Linked DNA regions of Homo sapiens: regions 1, 2 and 4 are each linked to region 3. Evidence: promoter capture Hi-C in 16 types of primary human blood cells and fetal thymus (Javierre and others, 2016). All regions are on one chromosome and are shown on one strand. The core of a region is centred on a gene start or on the middle of the fragment in contact, and the rest is flanking DNA. Distances in the headings are between cores, read along the strand shown.

What was found. Contacts are between HindIII fragments. The CHiCAGO score rates a contact against its expected background, and 5 or more counts as called.
Region 1: a contact is called between a fragment that was not itself captured here and the fragment with the promoter of COLEC10 in region 3, in 2 of 17 cell types (M1 macrophages and monocytes). The highest score is 5.3, in M1 macrophages.
Region 2: a contact is called between a fragment that was not itself captured here and the fragment with the promoter of COLEC10 in region 3, in 4 of 17 cell types (M2 macrophages, endothelial precursors, M1 macrophages and 1 more). The highest score is 11.4, in M2 macrophages.
Region 4: a contact is called between a fragment that was not itself captured here and the fragment with the promoter of COLEC10 in region 3, in 1 of 17 cell types (M1 macrophages). The highest score is 6.1, in M1 macrophages.

Annotation. Positions count from the first base shown.
Region 1 is chr8:118,778,643-118,781,342 of GRCh38, reverse strand. No RefSeq gene overlaps it. Among named protein-coding and RNA genes, the nearest start is that of SAMD12, 160 kb to the right of the region's middle. The HindIII fragment of the contact is 4,138 bases long and covers 1-2,700 here.
Region 2 is chr8:118,760,887-118,763,586 of GRCh38, reverse strand. It overlaps the pseudogene RPS26P35. Among named protein-coding and RNA genes, the nearest start is that of SAMD12, 140 kb to the right of the region's middle. The HindIII fragment of the contact is 1,494 bases long and covers 625-2,118 here.
Region 3 is chr8:119,065,900-119,068,599 of GRCh38, reverse strand. COLEC10 (collectin subfamily member 10) reads right to left here and starts at 1,353. Exons shown (of 6, transcript NM_006438.5): 1 at 1,171-1,353. The coding sequence starts at 1,318. It overlaps LOC101927513 (a long non-coding RNA gene), which reads left to right. Exons shown (of 2, transcript NR_134297.1): 1 at 1-926. RefSeq lists an enhancer at 179-1,378. The HindIII fragment of the contact is 2,529 bases long and covers 1-2,008 here.
Region 4 is chr8:118,670,257-118,672,956 of GRCh38, reverse strand. The region is part of intron 3 of SAMD12-AS1 (SAMD12 antisense RNA 1); the gene reads right to left. Among named protein-coding and RNA genes, the nearest start is that of SAMD12, 50 kb to the right of the region's middle. The HindIII fragment of the contact is 5,440 bases long and covers 1-2,700 here.

The DNA of each region.
Region 1 (2,700 bases), core at 188-2,687, 290 kb after region 3:
ATAAATTACATGGCCTAGAACAATTGTATCATCATATCATCACACCTCTGGTTAACATATCAAACACTTCTGTTTTTATCATTTAGTACCATGATATGAAATATTTGAGGCAGCTATATATGGATAATAGGAATTTAAACTAGGTCAAGAGAATTGTTTCTTTATTCAACAAACAATTTTGAAGCAGATACAGTTTTCTAGGCATTTCAAATCACTAAGAAAGTTACAAAAGGATAAAATTCATATATAATTCTTATTGATAGTAGCTTATATTTATTACTCACCACAGAATAGGCATTGTGTTAGGCTCTTCACATATGTTATCTCTTTTACCTTGACAAAAACCAGCAAAGTGATTAGTATGCCCATTTTAGAGAGAAGAAAACTGAGACTCAAAAATATTCAAAGACTTGCCCAACATTTTTCAGCTAGAATTTTCAAGAGCCAAACCCCACTCTGCAATTCCAAAGCCTGTTTTCTTTCTATTCTCTCACTATTCCTCTTTCAACGTCTCACCATAATGTCAGGTAGAATGGAATAAGCACTGGATTAGATGTACAAGTAAATTATTACGGAACTCAGGGAGGGAAAATGTTGGATTTGAATGCTAGAGGATTTGGGAAGGTTTTCTTCAGGGCATTTAAAATGAACCATATACAATACATGGACTTATAGAGGGAAGGGAGGAGTAGAAAAAAATGGGGGCATCAGGAATGAAAAAAATATCAGCAAAAATTCGGCAATGTCAACTTGCAGGGGAGAGTAGCTGTGTGGTGAGATATAGAGAACAGGCTGCAAATAGGGGCAAATCATGTTCATGTGGAAGTCAATCTCCAGTGTTAGAAAAGATGGTTAAATCTTTTAAAGCATGGACAAAATTTCCCTGTATCTTTACAAACCTGGTTGCATAACTGAAGCAAAGATCAACTTGAGCTCTACCATAATTTTAAAAAACTATCACACTTCCTGTTTGAGCAGGTCTGACTTAATATTTGTCTATAGCACATAGACGCACACACATACAGCCGTGAGCAGCTGATGTCTGAACAATCATATCTTGGCCATTCATTCTCTCCACCCAATTTCTCCCATATGGCAAATTGCCCAGAGATCATTATTAGTTCCACGAATAGCCAATCAGCAAATATTTAGGTAAAGTCAGTCTGTTGCAAGATCCAAAAGAGAGAGGGAGAGGGAAAAGGAGAAAAAGAGGGAGAGAGAGATGGAGAGAGAGAAATGGAGAGACACAGAGAGAAGGAGGGAGGGAAGGAGAGACAGAGAGAGAGAGAGAGAGAGAGAGGAGAGTGCTAGAGTACTTTATTAGTGGCTCAAAAGCAGGTGTCTTAAGAGGAATATAGAGTTAAAAAAAATGGCAAGCCTAGGCATCAATATAGAGCTTGGGGCGGTGATGTTCAGAGACCTGCAGACCTTCAAGATGGCCTATTTTACCCAGTTTTATAGATGAAATGTTTAGGAAGCCTTGAACCTGCACCTAAACCCAATGCTCCTGTTGCCCTAGACTCTCTCCAACCATTTTATCATTTAGTTGTTGTGAAAGCAGTGACTACTGCCTCTAGAATACATCCCATTTGCCCCTGAAGAGAAGGCTTTTTTTGGCTACAGCAAAAGGAAAGTGGGAAGATAAAACAAACTTTAATTCATCTGTTCTTACTCATAGGCTTCCCATCAAGGATGGGTTTTATCCTTATTTAGAATCAATACTAAGTAAAGAAAGTATAAATATACCAATTGAAAAATGCTTTCTGTGGAGGCCTTGGCAGCCACAGCAAATTGCCTGAGGTTTAGAGACACCATGCATTTTCCCTAGGTTTTATTCTGAAACCCTCAAGTGTTCAAGCCAATCATTTCCTGGGACCCTTGATATAATAGCATCTAGGATCTGTTAATAGGGTTTCTTTTTTTGTTTTTTGTTTTTTTTTAGTTCTGAGACAGAGGTAAATTCCTACCAGACCAATGGAGTTTTTACCCCTTAATTGCTTTTGTTGAATATTTCTCCCCAAGAGATAATAGAAGCTATAGTTAAGTTGAGTATTACTATGTTGAGAACATAAGAGGATCTTGGAGAAACTGGAGGATTTCCCCTGGGCATCTCCCATTGGTTAGACTGGTGTCAAGGAACTCAAATGTCCGAATGCTCCTAGAGTCTCCATATGCTGCCGTAAGTGGCATAGACTCTGAATTAGGTGGCCTTAATTCCATTGTCATTTCTCACACTAACCAGCACTTTAACCCAAGGGAAAGTTGAACTCCAAAGAAGGATTTTTTGTCTATATAGTAGGAGAGTTTAACTGGCATGTTCCCTTAGGATCCCCCTAGTGCTAGTCTATTACAATTTCTTTGGGTTGCCCTAGACCAAACTTGTCCAACCCTTGGCCCACAGGCCACATGTGGTCCAGGACAGCTTTGAATGTGGCCCAAGACAAATTTGTAAACTTTCTTAAAAATTGAGGGGTTTTTCTGCAATTTTTTTTTCATCATCAGCTATTGTTAGTGTTAGTGTATTTTACTTATGGCCCAAGACAGTTCTTCTAATGTGGCCCAAGGAAGCCAAAAGATTGGACACCCCTGCCCTAAACAAACATGAAATGAACCGCAAGATAACGGGTCAGGGCTGATCATCCTGAGGAAATAAAAGGGAAATGGATATTGGGGGTTCATTTAAAGGGTTTATGGCTGGAT
Region 2 (2,700 bases), core at 122-2,621, 310 kb after region 3:
TCCATGAAAAAGAAGTGCCCATTCTTTTCCTTTTATTTTACAAATACACAAAGCTGGGAGGTTGTGCTGTAGCCAGAGCACATTGTACAGAGAGGAGAGTTTGGCAATGCTGGAATAGGAAGGAATAAAATAACAAATTTAAGGCTGGAGGGGAAAGAAATTGGAGAAAAAAAGTGAGAGAAAAATTAAGTGTGCAGGGAGGGTGACGGTCACATCTAAACCTAATGGCCAGAGACCAGATTATGCAAATTCTTCCAGGCAGCTCCACACTCTGCTCCACCCAAGCACCCAGCCAATGAAAGAACATTTCTTCAATTGATTTTTCATGGTCTCTAAAACTGCCAGCATTATCTAAATTCTTTAATGGTATAAAAAAGAGACATTTTAACTTAATGAAATCAATTTAATGCCATTTTGATAAGAAAGTAATATATGAAGTGATTAATAAATTTGGGAGTTTGAGTTAAGCCCTATCTATACCCACTACCATCAAAATAACAGACTTCAATCAATTCCATTTAGTGCATACCATGTTTCTGGGAAGACATCACCATGCCCTCACCTGTGACATAATTCTTAGAGCCATTCAAGACTCCTCTATCTCTTTCACCATCTCTCCAAGCTTTGGCATAAGAAATTACCAATACAGGCAATGTCTGTTTCCTAAATATCTCTCAAATCTGTCCTCTCCTCTCTATCCACACTACCACTACTTCATCCTAGGCCATCCAATTCCTCATCTGGATTTCTGATATGAACTAAGTGGTCTTGTCTCCTGACTATGCTTTAAAGAGACAATTTGCTAACCTGCAAATCTGTTCTCATCATCTTCTTGCATATCTTTCTTTGGGGTCTCCCACAGCCCTCGGAATAAGGCTTACACATATCCCTATCCTTACAGGATGCTTCCTTAATGGCCTTTCCAGAACAATCCTCTGTCTTTAGGGGCTATCCATGCTATGCCACAGTGACATTTCTTCCAACGTTTTATGCTGTCTCATGCCGTTGGAGCTTTGTTGTGACACTGGATATTCTTGCCTATTTGTCTCATGAAACTGTGTGTTCTGTAAGTGTAGAGACCATGTCTTATTTGTTGTTGTAGCCATGGCACCTGGCATAGTGTTTGGCACATGGTAGAATGAGGCAAAAAACTGGTAACTTTTAAAACAAATCAACAATTTTAAAAGGAAGGAGTGTTTGTGAGCTGGATACAGGTACCATAGTCATGACTGTGAAGCTATCCCTGACTGTCCTAAGAAAAAACAATGGTCCTGAAAGTTTGGGCCAATGGGAGAAGGCTAATGTGGCTGATGGTCACCAGAAAAAAGAAAAAAATTAAATGCTTAAAAGCAAACAGTCACTCCTCTCTTCGGTCCGTACCTCCAAGATGACAAAGAAAAGAAGGAACAACGGTCACACCAAAAAGGGCCGCGGCCACGTGCAGCCTATTCGCTGCACTAACTGTGCCCGATGCATGCCCAAGGACAAGGCCATTAAGAAATTCATCATTCGAAACATAGTGGAGGCCGCAGCAATCAGGGACATTTCTGAAGCGAGCGTCTTCGATGCCAATGAGCTTCCCAAGCTGTATGTGAAGCTACCTTACTGTGTGAGTTGTGCAATTCACAGCAAAGTAGTCAGGAATCGATCTCATGAAGCCCGCAAGGACCGAACACCCCCACCTTGATTTAGACCTGTGGGTGCTGCCCCACGTCCCCCACCAAAGCCCATGTAAGGAGCTGAGTTCTTAAAGACTGAAGATAGACTATTCTCTGGAGAAAAATAAAATGGAAATTGTACTTAAAAAAAAAAAGCAAACTGTCTACTGCATAATTTTGCAGAGGGCTGGCCCTGTTGTAAGGGATGGCTCAAAAGGAAATTACTGCCCGACACAGGAGGAAAGAATACCAATTATTTTTCTCTTAAGCAGGGCCAGGCCAACTCAACAGAAAACCAGAGAGGATGGGCAATGCATTCCTGGAAGGAAGCTACTGGTGCTGGTGCCATCAGCCTGGTTGACGAAAGAGACATGATCTAGGAGCCACCCAGCTGAAAGCTGGTACACCACAGACAGACATGCTTCTTGGAAACGACCTCTGGCAATTAGGAATTCAAGCTTAGCCTCAACTTCTCAGATGAAGCCTTCTAATTTTCCTTTTCCCTCCCATGTGCTTCTTCCAGGAAACCTGCCTTGTCCTCTGTGGTAGTTGTGAAAGATCAAATGTGCCTTTTACCAAAAAGGCACTTTCATCTCCTCCCAACTCCTTTGTGTGTGTCCACATGGGATGGCTCATACAGGGACACTCCTAGGACCTGACATGGGGCCACCTGCACTCTATGCCTATGAGTGTTTGTGTGGAATGAGAGTACACAAAGTCAAGGTGGAACACCAGACCCACTAGTCTAAGACAGTAAATGATTATAGAATAATGTGACCATGAAAACCACCACTTTGAATAGAATTTGTCTGTGATATATTTTGAGCCCAGACAAGTTTTGCATGCTTTTGTGCCACTTCTTCATGATGTTACTCATGCTAACAACTAACTTTAACAAAAACTTTACCAGGAGAATAAGGCAAAATCAGATGTGCTAAGTGCACAGGAAGGAGACCAGAGCCCTGAGGCGTTCTTTTGAAGTCTAAGTACTGGTGTTTCAAAAGTTTAATGAAACCTACTAGACTCTGAGCAAAATTCGTTT
Region 3 (2,700 bases), core at 104-2,603:
GGGACAAGGAAAACTTTAATTTTCAATGCCCCCATGACACCCCAGGAATAATCTAAAGTTTCCTATACTCTAAGGAAACTTCAGTAACGGTTTTAAGCAAATACTTTATTTCTAATCAAAACTTTCTTTCTGAACATTTGCCCTCGCATTATTCATTTATTCACCCAAGAAATTATTTGGAAGCTCTAAGCTCTCATTGTTCCTCACAGCATTTATTTTATCGTATCAAAGGTTAAAACTTGGATTGCAATCTTAGAGGAAAATTAATTCAGTGATTAAGAAAAATGCACTTTAAGCAATACACATTTAAATAACTGACAGGCATGGGGCAATGTATTTCTGAATTTTGTTTTTTGGAAAAACACTTTTTTCTACTTAAAATTTTAGGCAGCTGCAATTCTTCTACCCTATAGCCTGGAGAAACAGCATGAATTACTAATAAGGGAGCACCAATCTGCAGTGCAGTGACCACTTTCAGAACAAAAGGGTGAAAGCTAAAACCAGAAAAATAGATTTTTTAAAATCTACTGGTTGCTTAAAGCATATTTGGACCTTGGCTGTACTTGAGAACATTTTGCAATATTCTACCATCCTTGAGCAGAAGGCATTTGGCCCCAGAGACTACACTTCCAAATAAAGAAATGTTCATTTATATACTACCTTCAATGCTTGACAAAATGTTTCCATCCTCTACGTTGGAACTCAGGATCCCATTAACTTATGAAATATATATTTAAGATTTAAGTTTTATGTTACTGACCTTTTGCTTAAACAGCTTTACCAGCATCAGTATTAGAAAGGAGGAGAGTACAAACAGTGCAATAATAGAGGTGCTTTTAAGGAAGGAAAGGGCTTCTGGAGACTCATGCCTGGATTGTGCATCTGCCCCGGAGCAGAATGGAACAGGGAATTTCCCCCTGCCCTGGGTAAGTTCCCTCAGATCTCCGTCCTGGGTTTCCCCTTCCCAACATCCTCTTACCTAACATCAAAGGAGAGCTTTAAATAAGTAACAGACCAGATCTGGAAAATCCTGATTTTCCAAAATAGAAGGAAAATGGGAGGAAACTAGGGAGGAGAGAAGAGAAAGTCATTGAAATCTAGGAAGGGGTTCAGAGATGAGGGAAGATATCATATTTATTATACATGAAAATTGTGGTTTTCTTTCCTCACCTTTGGGTCCTGGTGAAATTGTGTGTGTGGCACAGACTTCAGCGGTAGGACGGCTATCAATATCCAGACCCAGACTCTGAATTTGCAAAAGAAATAGTACCAGGAGGATAAATTGGTTTCTTCGAAGCAAGGATGCAAAGCCATTCATTGCTGTGGTTCCTCAGAAAAGGGTCTCCCAGAAATGCCAAATAAACAGCTTTATTTTAAATAAAACCTCCTGCTTTGGGGAAGAAGGGGAAGTATTTGGAACACACATTCCAAAAAGGGCTACAGAGACAGGAAGGAAGCATACCCTAGGTTGTTTATTTTCTCAGTGCTCCAAATGGACCATACATTGTCCAGACTGTTTATTTTCAAGTGACAACAGTTTATTGAAAATTATCTCTGAACTCCAGTGTGCATGTCAGTAGAAACATCCCCAAGAACAAAGAAGATAGAGATGCCTTCTGCTGAGTACTTGAGCTGACAATTTAATAGGCTATATTGCATTTAAACGCTGAGTTTCAGAAAGGTTGTGAACCAGAGAGGTCTTCAGTTAGCAACATGTTATGCAAACACCGTGCATGGCTTTGAGCTTTTCATAAGGTGATATTTATTACCTGCTTGTGCCTGTTGAACACTAATGCTTCCAATGCCCTCCATGACCTTCTTACTCTTGCTACCAAGATTATTCTCTTGTGATTAAATTCAAAAGGAAAGAACAACCAGCTTTTCTGTGAAGCAACTTGGTGATAAGTATTAGGAATATTAAAATGTTTATTACCTTTGGCCTAGTTTATAGCTTTTAGCCTTTCTGGTACACTATCTCAAGGAAATATTCTGAAATGTGGGCAAAGCTTCATTTGAAGGGATGTGGCAGAAAGGCGAAAGGCCTTCAATTGCCTAACAACGTGTTAACAGTGGGCAAATTACGGTAAAATATATGAGAGTGTATGACATGACAATTTTATTAAAATGGTGTTTTCAGCAAGTCTTTTACAAAATAAGGGGGAAAAGCTTGTGGTATTATGTTTCATAAAAAGCTCAACAGATTTAGATGTAGAGTATGTAGATCAGATACAGATATAGATACAGAGATCAGGATCTCTATCTATTCCACAAACCTATAACCTGTACAAATAGTATGGGCATAGTAAGATATTGGAAGATTGGAACCAGAATCACATATATTGGAGAGGCCCCTTACCTTCTCCATTCTTGAACAGCATCTCAACTAAGAGTTAGGTGAAAGGGATTTTGGACCTGCTTTCCTTGAAATTGGAAAAGAAGGACCTTACAGATCCTGATACAGACTGACTGCTGAAAAAATATCCCTAAGAGATGTCGTTACAAGTAACCATCAATCCAAGAAATACAGGTGCATTAGTTTCCTAGGGCTGCCATAACAAAGCACCACAAACTGAGTGGCTTACACCAGCGGCCGGGTGGCTAAAACCAGTGCCAACCCTTTTGGCACCAGGGACCAGTTTGGTGGAAGACAATTTTTCTATGGGGAAGATGGGGAAATACTTTCAGGATGATTCAGGCAGG
Region 4 (2,700 bases), core at 85-2,584, 400 kb after region 3:
ATGCACACCTGAACTGAATGTTAACCGAGGAAAAAAATGAGCAAGAAACCATTTTGAAAACCCCAGGACCTCTGCTAGTAAGCTAAAATACAACTTGGATCCAAAAAAAAAAAGTCTTACTATAGGATTTTAGGGGTTTCCTATTAAAGGGAAGTTTAAGTTTATATTTCCTGAATAGCCACATTCCATGAGAATCAATAAAAAATTAATGGAAAAACAAGATTAAATACTTATATAAGAATATGAAAGTTACACCTACTAGAATAAAATAATTCTAACGTGAGGCAATATATAGGCAGATAAATATATTTCTTAATGAAAATGCAAATTACACTGGTGAGAGTTGTAAGATGGGTTCCTTCATACACTGATGGAAATTGGGGTTTATAAATTACCAAAACCTTTTACTGAAGTATCCCTGGACACTTTTTTTAAAAGTTCATGTTTTATAGTTTGTTAACTAGTCTTTGAACTTACTTCCATTCTATCCTAGTGAATGATCAAAGAAAAACACAAAGATTTATGAATAAAGCTACTTGTTGCAAGATTACTAATTGTGCTGTGAAATGGTAACAACAACAGTCAGGAATTGGTTAAATTAACCAATTTAGTTGACCTAAAATGTAAAACATTAGTAAGTCATTTAAAATCAAGTTTTTCAGAAAAACATTCAAAATACTGTTGACTGGTGCACTCCCAGAGCCTAAAATAGTACCTAGTACATTATGTTAAGCCCTCAACAAATATTTGCAAAGTGAAAGAATATAAGAATATATTGAATCAAAAAGAGTACAAAATCGTTTGTTTCATTATGATCCAAATTCTCTTGAAAAAAGGACACACACATGCACAACATACACACACACACAAACACACATGCATACCTACATATATCTATACCCCGACTTAGGCCTAGAAAAAGGCCTGGAAGAAAATACACACAATTATTTACAATGGTGATCTTTGGGTGGTAGATTTGTGCATTGCTTTTGTGTCCTTTGTTTCTTTATTTTTCAGATCTTCTACAATACCAGTTACTTAAATACAATAAATATGTATCAGTGCTGTAATCAAAAAGAGCTATATTTTTAAGTGGCAAGACAACTGCATACATTAGAAAGGTAAGTCACTATTCTTTTTGGTGACATTTCCCACTGGCCTTTACTTCATTTCTCTATTGGATCTCTTGAGTGTGTATGGGATCAATCAATTAATTTAGTTTAACAAACATTTGTTGGCTGGACATGGTGGCTTACACCTGTAATCCCAACACTTTGAGAGGCCAAGGCAGGAGGATCACTTGAGCTCAGGGATTTGAGACCAGCCTGGGCAACCTAGTGAAACCCCATCTCTACCCAAAATACAAAAATTAGCCAGATGTGGTGGCACACACCTATAGTCCCAGCTACTCGGGAGGTTAAGGTGGGAGGATCACTGGAGCCCTGGAGGTTGAGGCTGAAATGAGCCCTGATCACCCCACTGCACTCCAGTGTAGGTGACAGAGTGAGACCATATCTAAAAAAAAAATTAAAGTAATAAAAATAATAAAAGAGTAAACACTTATTGATGCCCTATTAGGTGTCTGTCTAATTTGGGGAGACATAAATGAATAGTATACCACTTTTATTAAAGATATAGTTAATATAAAATATCATTTTATATATTTAATATAAAAATAATACAGTGAAGATACAACTAAAGAAACCTTTGAGTAGTTGGAGCCAGTACCATAAAGGAAGTAAGTGGACATAGGTCATCATGGGAGCAAAGATAGGAGTGACTTCACCAGCCTGGGAGAGATCAGAAGGAGCAGTTAAAGCCATAAGAGGAAAACAAGGAGTGCCCAGGATTCCAGAAGCCAAGGGAAGAAAATGAGAGGAGGAGGCCAAGTTGTCATGCTGCCAAAAAATTGAGTAAGACAACACCTGAGATGTGAAGTGAACAGACAGCATGGGTCGCTTTGCTTTTGGGTGTGTATTCTTGTCACATCTTCATCTCTAACCAAGGAGAAATGATAAATGGCATGTCTACTGCCTCCTCCAGCCTCAAGGTTAATTTACCATCGCTCAATCTAACTCTCATTTGTGAGTGAACCTCCTTTCTCTTGGTTATACCTTCACAACCTCAATCACTCCATTCTACACTCTTTCCACATCTCATAACTTCCAGCTTTCTTTCCAAAGAAACACATCCCATGATGCTTTAGAGATTTTAAGACATTTGAAGACAGGGAGCTTATAATTTAAGCTGCAGAAGAGGGTCAATTCAAAGGGGATTTAAGTAACTGGTAAATGGTAACTTTTGAGCAAGATCGGTAGTCCTTCCCTGCTTTTTATCAATTTGGGCACTAAAGATGGATGTTCTTACTGCCAAGTCCTTTGCATTAAAAAACACTGGGTCCAAAGGGAGTAGCCCAGAGCAGAACCTCATTTCCGGTGGGGTTCATGTCAACATACGCTTTACTCAACAGCTACACAGATATAAATATTATCAATATAAGACCATATGATCAAGAACAGCTTAGTCCATGTTTGTGGTATAATGTCATAGATAAGCAATGCAAGTGGGAATTTTATTTACTTGTTTGTTTGTTTATTTATTTAGAGACAGAGTCTTGCTCTGTTGCCCAGGCTGGAGTCCAGGGGTGCAATCTCAGCTCACTGCAACCTCCGCCTCCCAGATTCAATTGATTCTCCTGCC